Regions from separate parts of the Homo sapiens genome. Here all the other regions are linked to region 2. The links are contacts of gene promoters, found by promoter capture Hi-C in blood cells and fetal thymus (Javierre and others, 2016). All regions are on one chromosome and are shown on one strand. The core of a region is centred on a gene start or on the middle of the fragment in contact, and the rest is flanking DNA. Distances in the headings are between cores, read along the strand shown.

What was found. Contacts are between HindIII fragments. The CHiCAGO score rates a contact against its expected background, and 5 or more counts as called.
Region 1: the fragment with the promoter of PLD6 here is called in contact with the fragment with the promoter of TOM1L2 in region 2 in 2 of 17 cell types (naive CD8 T cells and total CD8 T cells); the score reaches 8.7 in naive CD8 T cells.
Region 3: a contact is called between the fragment with the promoter of COPS3 here and the fragment with the promoter of TOM1L2 in region 2, in 7 of 17 cell types (total CD8 T cells, activated CD4 T cells, naive CD4 T cells and 4 more). The highest score is 8.4, in total CD8 T cells.
Region 4: the fragment with the promoter of FLCN here is called in contact with the fragment with the promoter of TOM1L2 in region 2 in 8 of 17 cell types (fetal thymus, activated CD4 T cells, erythroblasts and 5 more); the score reaches 10.3 in fetal thymus.

The regions. Positions count from the first base shown.
Region 1 is chr17:17,204,768-17,207,855 of GRCh38, reverse strand. It overlaps PLD6 (phospholipase D family member 6), which reads left to right and starts at 1,523. Exons shown (of 2, transcript NM_178836.4): 1 at 1,523-1,996. The coding sequence starts at 1,570. RefSeq lists silencers at 1,215-1,264, 1,305-1,554, 1,675-1,724, 1,745-1,864 and enhancers at 490-1,329, 2,385-2,504. The HindIII fragment of the contact is 11,264 bases long and covers 191-3,088 here.
Region 2 is chr17:17,970,477-17,973,649 of GRCh38, reverse strand. TOM1L2 (target of myb1 like 2 membrane trafficking protein) reads left to right here and starts at 1,250. Exons shown (of 15, transcript NM_001082968.2): 1 at 1,250-1,388. The coding sequence starts at 1,337. It overlaps DRC3 (dynein regulatory complex subunit 3), which reads right to left and starts at 788. Exons shown (of 14, transcript NM_031294.4): 1 at 676-788. RefSeq lists enhancers at 497-816, 1,188-1,757 and a silencer at 1,497-1,546. The HindIII fragment of the contact is 5,656 bases long and covers 483-3,173 here.
Region 3 is chr17:17,279,987-17,283,109 of GRCh38, reverse strand. It overlaps COPS3 (COP9 signalosome subunit 3), which reads left to right and starts at 1,864. Exons shown (of 12, transcript NM_003653.4): 1 at 1,864-1,978. The coding sequence starts at 1,924. RefSeq lists enhancers at 1,667-1,766, 2,417-2,476 and a silencer at 1,987-2,226. The HindIII fragment of the contact is 7,073 bases long and covers 1-3,123 here.
Region 4 is chr17:17,235,817-17,239,053 of GRCh38, reverse strand. FLCN (folliculin) reads left to right here and starts at 1,886. Exons shown (of 14, transcript NM_144997.7): 1 at 1,886-2,142. RefSeq lists a silencer at 940-1,125 and an enhancer at 1,560-1,669. The HindIII fragment of the contact is 3,806 bases long and covers 1-3,230 here.

The sequences.
Region 1 (3,088 bases), core at 274-2,773, 770 kb after region 2:
ATTTTTGTATTTTTTGGTAGAGACAGTGTTTCACCATGTTGGCCAAGCTGGTTTCGAATTCCCGAACTCAAGCTGTCCTCCTGCCTCAGCCTCCCAAAGTTCTGGGATAACAGGCATGAACCACCGTGCCAGGCCACTTCATTCTATTTTATTGCTAAATAGCATTCCCTTGTACAGATATACAAAAGCTTATTTACCTGTTTACCTGCTGACGCCTTTTTGGGTTGTTCTAGGCACATACGCCTGCCAGGACACGTGCTTGTGTTAATGGATCCCGCCCTTTCTCCTAGGAGTGGGATAGCTGGATCATATGGAAGGTGCAAGTTTAATATTTTAATAAACTTTTAATTTAGAATAATTTGCTTTACAGAAAAGTTTCGAATATAGAACAGAGAGATCCATTTACCCCCACGCAGCTTCCTTTGTTAACCTTTTACATTCCTTTCATACATTTGTCAAAGCTAAGAAACTGACATTGGTACAATGCGATTAAGCTCCAGACTTTATTTGGCTCTCACCAGTTTTTCCGTGAATGTCTTCTTTCGGTTCCAGGATCCAGCCCAGACCACCACATTGCCCCGTTTCCCTATGCCCCCGGCCCAGTGCCCTCGGCTGCCTTAGTCTCTTCCTCTGTTTATGCTTAAAGCAGGGCAGGCCTTCCAACAACGCCGGCTGGAAAAAACCTCTTGGGCTAGGAAAAAACCTCTGGGCCGACACCGCCTCCAGTATGCTGGGTTCCAATGCTGCCTCCAGCTGTGTTGATTCCCTGATTATCTGTGTTCCCAGGTCATTCCCCAGCCCAGCCTAGCTGCTCCCGAGAAGACAGTGAAGGTGTGACCCCACATTTCCAGAGCAGCTCTGCTGTGCTCCATGCGAGGAAAGCCGGGGTTGCTGTGGCTTCTAGCGCGGAGAGCGGTCTCTGGCCTGGGCAGGTGACGGGTGTGCTAGGGCCCGTGGCCCGCGGGTGTGCAGGTGCTGCCTGGTGGCGCGGGCTTGGGGACGTGGCTTGGCACGTGGTGGGAGGTGGAACCTGGAGGGCGTGGCCGAGCGCCTGGCTGGAAGGAAAATGGGGGGCACAGCCTGGCGTTGGGGGGTGGAGGGTGTCTGTGGCAGGGGGCGTGGCCTGGCGCGTGGAGGGAGGCGTGGTCACCTGTTGAGGGTTGGGGGCGGGCTGATGGGAGGCGTGGGTTCAGCTTGGTGCGTGACAGTTGTGGGGGCATGGCGCGGCCTAGCGCGTGGCCCTCGGGGGCTGAGGGCGTGACCTTGCACGTGGCCGTTGGTGGGGCGTGACGGGGGCGTGGCCTGGCGTGTGGCCATGGGTGCTGGGCGTGGCCTGGCACGTGGCCTGGCACGTGGCCGTTGGCGCTGCGTGACGGGGGCGTGGCCTGGTGCGTGGCAATTGGCAGGACGTGATAGGGCGTGGCCTGGCGCGTGGCCATGGGGGGCTGGGCGTGGCCTGGCACATGGCCGCTGGCGGCGCGTGACGGGGGCGTGGCCTGGCGGTCTAGGGCTGGGGGCGCGCAGACTCCGCTGCGGCGGCGTGGCTGTGGGTCCCGGATTAGCGGCGGCATGGGACGGTTGAGTTGGCAGGTGGCGGCCGCGGCGGCTGTGGGCCTGGCTCTGACTCTGGAGGCGCTGCCTTGGGTGCTGCGCTGGCTGCGGTCCAGGCGGCGGCGGCCGCGGCGCGAGGCGCTGTTCTTCCCGTCTCAGGTGACCTGTACCGAGGCCCTGCTGCGGGCTCCGGGCGCGGAGCTGGCCGAGCTCCCCGAGGGCTGCCCGTGCGGCCTGCCCCACGGCGAGAGCGCGCTAAGCCGCCTGCTGCGTGCCCTGCTGGCCGCCCGCGCCAGCCTGGATCTCTGCCTGTTCGCCTTCTCCAGCCCGCAGCTGGGCCGCGCCGTGCAGTTGCTGCACCAGCGTGGGGTGCGAGTGCGGGTCGTCACCGACTGCGACTACATGGCCCTCAACGGCTCGCAAATCGGTCTGCTGCGCAAGGCAGGTAGGCCCGGCGGGGTCCAAGCGGAGAAGGCCGGCTTGGCCCACGCGGGGTCCTAGGCGCAAAGGTGGACACTTAGGGGAGGGGGTCTGGGGACGGGCTGAGGCCTCATTTACTTTCCTCGTGGCCTTGTGGGGTCGGGGTGGTGTAACGCGGAGAAAGCAGAGCCCCCACAGAAGGTCTAGCCGGCTGCGTGGGCATAAGCGAGCCGGACCCTCGGTGCCTCCGCGGTGGGGGCGGTTCTCTCAGTGAACTGTCCCGGCATGCTGGAAGCAGGTGGGCCTGCGTGTGCCGGGTTAGAGGCGGAGCAGATTCCCCTAGCAACTCCTCGGGCGCCGCCGGCGGAGTTTTCGTGACTGCTGCAGCCCGGGCCCGCCCTCCTACGCTGCCGGAGATCCCCGGACGGCCTCTGGTAACCTGGATCCTGGTGGCAGGGGAGCTGGACGCCAGGGTTGTGCTTGGACTTCCAGACTGAAGGGCTCTGGGGAGAGGCGGCCACCTGCTGCCCAGTGAATCTCAGGCCACTGGGCTCTGGGAGACCTGAACATGTTCTAGAAAGCAGCGCCAGGACATTCGGTTGTTTTCCCAGCTGCAAAAGGAGGGGAACACATATTTCTGGCGGGGGCGCCTCTCTCATGGGGTGGGGACAGAAGGGACCAGGAAATGTGAATAATTGGGATCCTTGTCCCACCTGAGGATTCTCAGTCCATCCTGGCCCAGTTCGGCGGCCCAGCCTGCTGTTGCCTTTTGTGTATCTGCACTCACAGACTCTTGGGCCTGTCTCTGTCTCCATCACTCAGGCACCCAGAAAGTCACGCCTGCACGTGCAACGGTTGGATCTGATAATACTGGTGGTCGCAGTGACCGAGAGATGTGTGGAGCCCTGGGAATTGTCCAGGCTGGGCAGTGGTCACCGCCGCGCTGTTCCTTCTGCACAGCCATAGCCTCTTGTTGACTTGGGCCTCAGAGCAGCCTCTCCAGAGTCAGCCAGGGTCCCTCCCTGCTCTGGGTGGTGTGGGGCATGTTGCACGCCATGTGGGAGCAGAGTGGGGCACGTGGTTTTCATATTGAGGATGTCTCCTTCTCTTTGGGGCA
Region 2 (3,173 bases), core at 1-2,500:
AAAATAAAAAATAAATAAATAAATAAATAATGAACAAAATTTTTCTTAAAAAAGAATAAAATCAATCACTTACTGAATGCTTACTGTGTGCTCAGTGCACATGCATTATTTAAGTACATGTAAGCTCCGGAGGCCATAAAAAGGGAGTCCTAATGCCCTTATTTCCCAGCTAGGGAACCTGAGGCTCCAGGGAGGTAAAGGAACTTGTCCAAAGTCGTACAATGAGTTACTGACAGAGACGGATACAGAACTTGAGTAGCCGTATTCACATCCAAAGCGGTATATACAGTACCAAGATGAAATCATTTGATAGTTATGAGGTCAGTTATGATGGCTAAATTCTGGGAAAAGTTATCAGTGGACCGGGTACCTCTCTTTCTATGAAAGGAGGCTGGAAGACGGAACCCCTTAAAAATCCATTCTGGCCCTGCTCCCTCGGGAAATGCTTCCTTAGTATTTTTTTTTTTTTTTATTCAAAAGCTTGACAAGCCCAGGACTAAAGTGTCTTGGCTGTCTCACACGACTGTAAAGTGGCTGGGAGAGGACCTACGTGCTCATTTTATAAATGAGAAGGGCCGGGCCGGCGTTCTCCGAGAAAAAGGTCACAGGAAAGAGTTACGTCGGGCACTATCTGTCCCTGCAAGTCCTCCGGGAGCCTCAGCTCCCAGGTCTCACCTTCTCAAGCGCTGGGAACTCGGCGGTTCCACGCAGCAGACGCGTCTCCCGGTTGCTGGGGAACCAAGCGCCGCGACTTGGTTGCTAAGGGGAAGTCAGAAGGGAGACATCCTGGGTGAAAGTTGACAAGTCACGTGACCACATCTCCGTGTGGTGAAACACTCCTTACACCAACCAGCCGTAGAGAAAACAAATGTTTCTCCAATCAGTACTTTCTATGGGCGGGGATATTCCTAGATTCACCTCTGTTCCGTCCATTTGCGTGATTGACTCGTCTTTTGTCCAATAATAGTAAGAATCCTTTAGATTGACCAATATACAGAGGAATCAAAATGCGCAGCTTCCCCTTTGGGGGCGGGCCAGGGGAGGTGCCGCCACGGCTGACAGGGACTCCGGTGACCTAGCTCGCTCCTCCGCCCAATCGGACGCTGCGGGGTGGGTGGGGGCTTTGCTGACAGAGGTGTAACGACCAATAGGAGGCGGGCTTCGTAGGTGTCCCCCAATAGAGACGCGGCAAGGGGGCGGGGCCAAAGGCCCTAAGCTCGGCGTTCCAGAGAGTGGGGAGGGGGCAAGTGTCAGTCAGGACGGGAGTCCGGCGGGTTACAGCGGAGGCCTAGGTGGCAGACAGGGGGCCCGGGCCGCTGCGTGTTGTCCACCCAAGATGGAGTTCCTCCTGGGGAACCCGTTCAGCACACCAGTGGGGCAGTGCCTCGGTAAGGCCGCGTGTGGGGCAGGAGGCTGGGCAACGGCGGCCGCTGATCCGGCTGGTGAGGACCGCGGGCCTCCGCCGGGCGCCGGTGCCACTTCACGAGCGGGCTGGGCCTCCGCCAGCCGCGGGTGCCACTCCACGAGCGGGCTGGGCATCCTGGTCGTCGGGCCTTTGCCGGGCGCTTGTGCCACCTCACGGGCGGGCTGGGCATCCTGGTCGTCTGGCCTTCACTGGGCGTCGGTGCCACCTCACGGGCGGGTTGGGCATCCTGGTCGTCGGGCGTTCGCCGGGCGCCGGTGCCACCTCCCGGGGGGGCTGGGCCTTCGCCGGGTGCCGGTGCTATCCCACGGGCAGGCAGGGCATCTGTGTCCTCGGGCCTCCTCCCGGGCACTGGTGCCACCTCACGGGCGCGCCAGTGCCACTCTGCCAGGAGGCACCCCTGAGGCCCAACTTGGACTCGGAGATGCCCCAGGCTTCCCTGCCCATCAAGGCTCAGCCCTTCCTTTTGCTGCTAGAGGTGGTGCCAACTGCTGGTCTGCTTCCCCAATGCGCTTTGGGAGATGCCACTGCATGTGTCTTTATCCAGCCCAGCAGGCTCACTGCCACTGCCCCAAGGACCCAGTTCTCCCAAACCCTTTGTGGGATGTCACCTTCTTCTCCATCTTTGTCCCTCCTCTTCGGTACCAGCAACCCTCAGACTGGGCACCCTCCCAGAAATGCCCCCTGCTCCGGGACTTGCTAATTTGAGCTGCAACTCAGCTGTGCTGTAGGAGGGACTGGGATAGGAGGAGGGGCTCTTGGAGGGTGATTATCTTGGCAGGGGGATGGCATGCCTGCAGTGCCTCCCAGGAAAGAAGGGAGGCTGTGTTATTTAATGATAAGAGCCCTGGACTGGGAATCATGGAAGCCTGGACTCTAGCAGTGGTTTTGTCAGTGACTCCATATGACCTTGTGCCCTTTCTGGTTTGAAGTTCCCCTGTCTGTCAAAGTGTTTGGAGATGAGATGTGATAGATCCCTTAAAGTTCTCAAGTTTTGATATTCTTTGTAGTACTCTGCACATTGACTGTTGCTTCCTCCCCCACCTCATATTAAGTTTACCAAAGCTGAAATCTTTTGTTGGCAATGTAGAGAGAATGGTACTCAGCATTATCTGTTAATCCTATAGGGGGGATGTGGACACCTGGGGACACCAGAGATGGCCAGAATCATGGATAAGGAAAGCCCAAAGTGTAGGTAAAGGAATACTGAAATGGCCACCATATGGGACTTCCTTACTAAGAAAGCAACTTGCCTTTTTACCCAAGGCAGTGGCTTATGCCACTTGATCAGTCAAGAATGCTGATTAGTTTGTTTGAAAACTGGATTCCTCCTGGTTGGTTGAAGGACTGGTAAAACGTCTTTTATGAGCCAGGATCTTTGGTGTTCTTATGGGCCTGATTTCAGCAGTAGTGATTTGTTTATTTTCTGCTTTGCTTATGAAATTTTAGCTTACTTTCCAGCCTTTAGTGGAGCCTATAAACTTATTGAGGTCTCTCCTGTTGGCTAATTAGCATTTAGGAGCCTTTCTTTACTTTCTGGCGTAGTATCTTTTATAATGCATGAGGGACCCCAAAAGAGTGTTTTCCCACCTTTTTGACATCTTGTCTCTTGCTGCCCACTGGAGAGTCTCTGGATTCTCACTTCCTTACTTCTTCCCCATGTCCTTTTCCACTCTCTTCAGGTGCTCTTGCATGGCAGCCACACTCCAAAAACTAATTTCCAGCCAGTTAATGGAGGGAGCCAGAAAAC
Region 3 (3,123 bases), core at 615-3,114, 690 kb after region 2:
TGTTTTGTTTTGTTTGAGTCAGATTCTTGCTCTGTCGCCCATGCTGGAGTGCAGTGGTGCCATCTCGGCTCACTGCAACCTCCACTTCCCGGGTTCAAGAGGTTTTCCCATCTCAGCCTCCCGAGTAGTTGGGACTACAGGTACCCATCACCAAGCCCAGCTAATTTTTGTAGTATTTTTAGTAGAGATGGCTTTTCACCATGTTGGCCAGGCTGGTGTCCAACCCCTGACCTCAAGTGATCCACTTGCTTCAGTCTCCCAAAGTGCTGGATTACAAGCGTGAGAGACTGCACCAGGCCCCAAGACTGTTTTTACTACCACTGTATTTCTAGTGCCTGGTACAACACATTGTAAGTGTCAGTAAACATATGTTGGATAAAATTTTAAAATGCATGTTTATTTTCTCAGTCCCTACTATGCAGCAAATCCTATGCTGGGCCCTAAAGGGGAACCAAGGTTAGTAAGAGAAATGCTTGACCTTAAGGAACTCCATGCCAGTTAGAAGCAATGGATCCGTAAACCAAAAGTATCTGAGACCAGTCTCAATCGAGAAAGTTTATATTGCCAAGGTGAAGGATGCGATGATAACACGGCCTCAGGAGCTCCTCAGGACATGTGCCCAAGGTGCGGGTACAGTTTGGTTTTATACATTTTAGGGAGACATGAGTCATCGATCAATACATGTAAGATGTACGTTGGTTAGGATCGGAAAGACGGGCTAACTCGGGGCAGTGGGGGGCTTCTACCTTATAGGTAGACTTAAAGATTTTTTGATTGGTAATTGGTTGAAAGAGTTATTATCTAAAGACCTGGAAGTAAATAGAAAGAAATATCTGGGTTATGATTATAAGGGGTTGTGGAGACCAAGGTTTTATCATGCAGATGAGGCTTCCAGGTAGCCTGCTATTCAGACAGAATAGATTGTAAATATTTCTTATCAGTCTTGAGTCTACCAGTCTTAAGGTCTCTGTGTTGATGTTTGTGAGGCATGTCTGACTACCACTTCCCATCATGGCCTGAACTAGTTTTTCAGGATAAATTGGAATGTCCTTGGCTTCAGATAGGGTCCACCAGTCAGTTGGGGGGCTTAGACTTTTATTTTTGGTTTACAGATATCACATGGACTATAGAGACACATTTCTGTAACAGAGTAGAAGTGCAACATGAGAAGAACAAAGTGCTTTAGGCGACAAGCGGAGGAGGGAGACATCAATCCCAGATGGGAAAAATCAATTCACTTTCTGTGTGTGGTGTTACTTATTTATTTATTTTTTGCAGGGAAGGGATCGATTCATTCAACGTACACCTTGAATGAATAACTATAGTTCTCCCTACGTCCTATGCACTGTCCTAAGTGTTTTACGTGGTTAAGGACACTAAGATTTTACAGATGGGGAAAACAATGCACACGACAGTCAAGTGACCCGCTCAACGTCACACAGCTACTAAGTGGTAGAAAAGGCAGTTGAACCCAGGCTGCTTGGCTCCAGAGTCTAATATCACGGGGAAAACCTCACGGGAGACGTGGCAACGAAGTTGTGCTTCATTGAAGTATCTGTCCAGGTGGAAAACCGCAGGGCCTCTCTAGCAAAATCCAGAACCAGAAAATACTTGCTTAATTATGAGTTTCCTTCCTTCTTTTGCCCACTATCCCCATTTAACCTGCGGAGGGATTTCAGAAGTGCAGTGAATAAAGATGCAGGGGACTATGGAACACTAATTTCCGGCTACGGCGAATTCAGGCTGTTTCCATGGAAACAGTAACGGGTGGGCAGCTAGGTATAGTCTCGCGGTGCTTGAACCAGCGGAAGTGACGTCGCCGCTCGCGAGGACCTCAGGTGGATCGCCGCGGCCCCTCCTCCCAGAGCGGCAGCCTTTTCCCGCGCGTGCTGCCTTCGCCGCTCGGGCCGCCCGGGGGAAAACATGGCGTCTGCCCTGGAGCAGTTCGTGAACAGTGTCCGACAGCTCTCAGCTCAAGGTAACGCCCTAGGCCGCCGGGCTGGGCATGGGCGGGTACCGGGAACTGGCCTGGATCCCCAGGCGCCAGCACGGACGGCTGGAACAGCCCTTTTAGTCCTGAGACTCTTCTCCGGGGCCGGGCTTGGGGTTGCGGCGTTTAGATCAGGGCAGGATCGAGCGCGGCCGAGTGTAGGCAGCCCCCTCGCGCTCCGCTGTCCTCGCCGGCCGGCCTCCCCTCCCTCGGGCCGCCGGGAGCCCCCTCCCCCCGGCCTGGGCCCCTTCCACCGGGCGCTTTGCTTGACAGTTTGGGGGCGTGACTTCCGCCAGGAGCCATCTCGGGCGACTATTGGTTCCTTCTGTCTCTCTTGCCTTCGGTGATTGGCGCACCGCCATGTCATCTTTGCCGCCGATCCGCAGCTTGCTGACTAGGCCGCCGGGAGCGGGCGGGAGGCGAGTCCGTTCTGGGTGTCTTGGCTCTATGGCTCGCCTCTGCCAGCTCCTCCGCTGCCAGGCGGCGCACGCTCGGGAACCTGTGCGCCTATTTTGGTCCTACAGAATGCTGCGGAAGCTCTCGCTCGTAGGACTCCATTTCTTCTTCTTTGTTTTTTTTTAGCCGAGGCTGGAGTGCAGTGGCGCGATCTCGGCTCACTGCAACCTCAGCCTCCCGGCTTCAAGCGATTCTCCTGTCTCAGCCTCCCGAGTAGCTGAGATTACAGGCGCCCGCCAGCTCACACGGCTTTTTTTTTTTTTGAGACGGAGTCTCACTGTCTCCCAGGCTGGAGTGCAGTGGCGCGGTCTCGGCTCACCTCAACCTTCGCCTTCGAGGTTCAAGCGATTCTCCTGTCTCAGCCTCCCGAGTAGCTGGGATTACAGGCGCCTGCCCGGCTAATTTTTGTATTTTTAGTAGAGACAGGGTTTCACCATGTTGGCCTGGCTGGTCTCGAACCTTGATCTCAGGTGATCCACTGGCCTCGGCCTCCCAAAGTGCTGGGATTACAGGCATGAGCCACCGCGGCCAGCCCACGCGGCTAATTTTTTCGTATTTTTAATAGAGATGGGGTTTTTACCATGTTGGCCAAGCTGGTTTCGAACTCCTCACCTGAAGTGATCCGCCCACCTCGGCCTCCCAAAGTGCTAGGATTACAGGCGTGAGCCACTGCGCCC
Region 4 (3,237 bases), core at 637-3,136, 740 kb after region 2:
TAGCAGTGAGCCGAGATCGCGCCACTGCACTCCAGCCTGGGAGACATAGCAAGACTCCGTCTCTAAAATAAAATAAAATAAAATCACCCTGTAACTTACTACCTCCTCAGAAATTAAGTTTGCGCTGTCCAACAGCAAGAGGAATTCGCTTGATAAGAATAATTAAACACATAAAGGCAATGCCTAACCTCGTAACGCCACCCCATATTCCTTAATCTTTACCAAGCCACTATAAGACGGCAGAAAACACAAGCTGCACTTTCGTTCTTTTCTCGTGTCCCGTTTTCAACAGACCATGGATTTTTTTTTTTTTTTTTAGATGGAGTCTCGCTCTGTGCCAGGCTGGAGTGCAGTGGCACGATCTCAGCTCACTGCAACCTCTGCCTCCCGGGTTTAAGCAATTCTCCTGCCTCAGCCACCAGAGTAGCTGGGACTACAGGCGTGTGCCACCACGCCCAGCTAATTTTTTTTGTATTCTTAGTAGAGAGGGGGTTTCACCTGTTGGCCAGGATGGTCTCCATCTCTTTACCTCGTAATCCGCCCACCTCGGCCTCCCAAAGTGTTGGGATATTATAGGCGTGAGCCACCGCGCCCGACCAGAACATGGAAATTTAAAGAGAAAAAAATAAGTGACTTCTGATTTCAAAAACACAACCACCCACTTTTCTATTCTATTCCTGGTGAGCACATTCTGGAGACTCTGCGGCAACCATAGCCTCGGCCGCGGCGGAAGGCTCCGGGGCGGCCACACCTCAGGGGGCAGCCACACCTCAGGGGGCAGCGCGCACAGGCGGGTCAGGCTCTGATTCCCATCTCTCTCCGGTCTTCACTGGAAGGACCCACACTACATCACAAACTAATGGCTTTACAATTAACTTCTAAGTAGCTAAATTTAGTAATGGGCGCTCTAGTTTTAAAAAATATTATTCAGGCCGGGCGCGGTGGCTCACGCCTGTAATCCCAGCACTTTGGGAGGCCGAGGCTGGTGGATCACCTGAGGTTAGGAGTTCAAGACCAGCCTGGCCAAAAGGGTGAAAACCCGTCTCTGCAAAAATACAAAAAATTAGCCAGGCGTGGTGGCGGACGCCTGTAGTCCCCAGCTACTCGGGAGGCTGAGGCAGGAGAATCGCTTGAACCCGGGAAGCGGAGGTTGCAGTAAGGCGAGGTCGCGCCACTGGACTCCAGCCTGGGCAACAAGAGCGAAAGCGAAACTCTGTCTCAAAAAAAGAATATTATTCAAAAACTGATTTTCACATTTTTAAAAAAGACCCACTGAGGGAGGAAGACCGAATCCCACACATGCGCGCGCACAGCGGTTCCGAGTTCTGCAACCAACCTCCCACGGGCGCCGCGCCTTCTCCGCGTCACGTGACGGCCGTCTCCCGCACCTTCCATACTCTCAATGTAGGGAGAGGACGGGTTCCATCAGCAATTTAATAAAAACCATTGGTGAAGCAAAAAAAAAAAGCCTGCCAACCTCTTATAACGTTTTTTCTTTATTTTTCTCTTTTATGTGGACAGGAAGCCTTAGGTTGGCTATATTTACCCTCAAATCTCTTTTTAAAATGATTTTTAAGTTTCAGCATACTCCCGCGCTTAATGAAATGGTTTCCCCCAGCATCCCCAGCTGGTGCGGTCTGAACCATTCGGAACTTCCCAGAGGGGGGCACCGGAATAGGGGCGGTGGAAAAGGGTAATTGTCGGGCAGCGGCCCCTGCTTCCCAGTCAGACCTCGGAGTTGTAGGACTCGGACTGTGTTCCTGGGCTTGCGAGAGCTAGGGAGGCCCGGCTCTCCTCGCGGTGCAGGACGCGCTCGGACGGCTCCCGCACCCCCACCGCAGTGTTGGGTGGTGGTACGGCTCAGGGAGTCACGCGCCTGGGTGTCGGCGGGGCTGCGGGACCGCGAGTGAGTGTGGTCGCTCCTGGTTCTGCCAGCTCCCCTGAGAGCCTGAACCCGGGCTTGAGAGCCTCGCCACCCCGGGTGACATCCCTGCCGTGGGCTTGGGGGCTCTGGGTGTGATTCCGCCGGTCCGGGTCCCGCAGCGACCACCTACCCAGCGCAGTCAGGGGCGGGGCTGGGACCCAGAGCGGGACCCCGGCTGCCGAGTCCAGGTGTCCCGCGGGCCTCGATTTGGGGAGCAGGTAGGCGGGGGTCTGAGGGGTTGGCGGAGGGGCATGTCCGAGTTTTCGTTGGTCCCAGGTGGACGAGTAATGGGGGAGGGTTTAGGGCCAGAGTCCAGGGCGTCGCCGAGACCCTGAGATTTGAAGATAGGTTGGGGGCACGCCCATTAACCAAGTCTATGGGGATGAGGACTGTGATCTCATTTGATGTTGCCATGAAACGGGACTGTTTGCCTTCCCTTCTCCCAGGTTTTGTCTTCGCTCTGTTTGGAGGAGAGGGTGTGTGTCATCCTCTTCTCCCAGTTTGGCGTTCAGGAGGGTCCTCTGATGCGCTAATAGGGTAGCACCGTGTCCTCCAGGGAGGGTGGAAGACCGCGCTTCTCTCCAGTTGAGAGTACTGTCAGTCGCGTCCTTGTCTCCTGGAAAGAATGGATTGGCTTGTGGATTGAAGTCCAAGGTGTGGTCACTAGCAGTCTCTTCAAGTGGGGACACAGGGCAAGGAGGAGCTTGCTGGAAGTAGGTTCTGGCTCTCTAGCCTTTGGCCACAGCCAGTTTAGTGCCAGATTATCACCGTGGTCATCAAGTAATTGAGTAATAGTGGCAGGTGACACTGCGTTTGCCCTTCTAGTGTCCTATGTCAGGGAGCTCTGTGAATGGAAATCCAGGGAAACGGTGGAAATAGAGCCACAGTGAGAGTGGATCTGAACTGGCAGTCATCCCCTGCAGAACTTTTCACCCTGGGCTTGTTGGGATCCCAGCTGCTAACTTAATGAGGCTCCCCAGTGGGAGACTAGTTATAGAAGCTGTGTGTCCACTGCTGGTTAAGATCCGTTATAGTGCTTTGTTTATTTAGAGTGCCCTTACTTAGTGGCCTCTTTAATTCTCCACGGTGCTATGAGAACACCATAGGAAGTAGGGTTGAAATAGGGCCAGGGCGCACCACGGGTGGTGGTGAGGTCACTGTCCAGGTCTGGGACTCAGCCATTGTGGGAGGGGGACATGAACAGACACTCTACCACATCAGGGAATTTGAATACTGTCTTTGGATATGTTGATGAAGAGACTGTCAGCCAGGGCATTTCGGCTTCCTATGTGGGTTCTGGAAAGCTTGTTGGA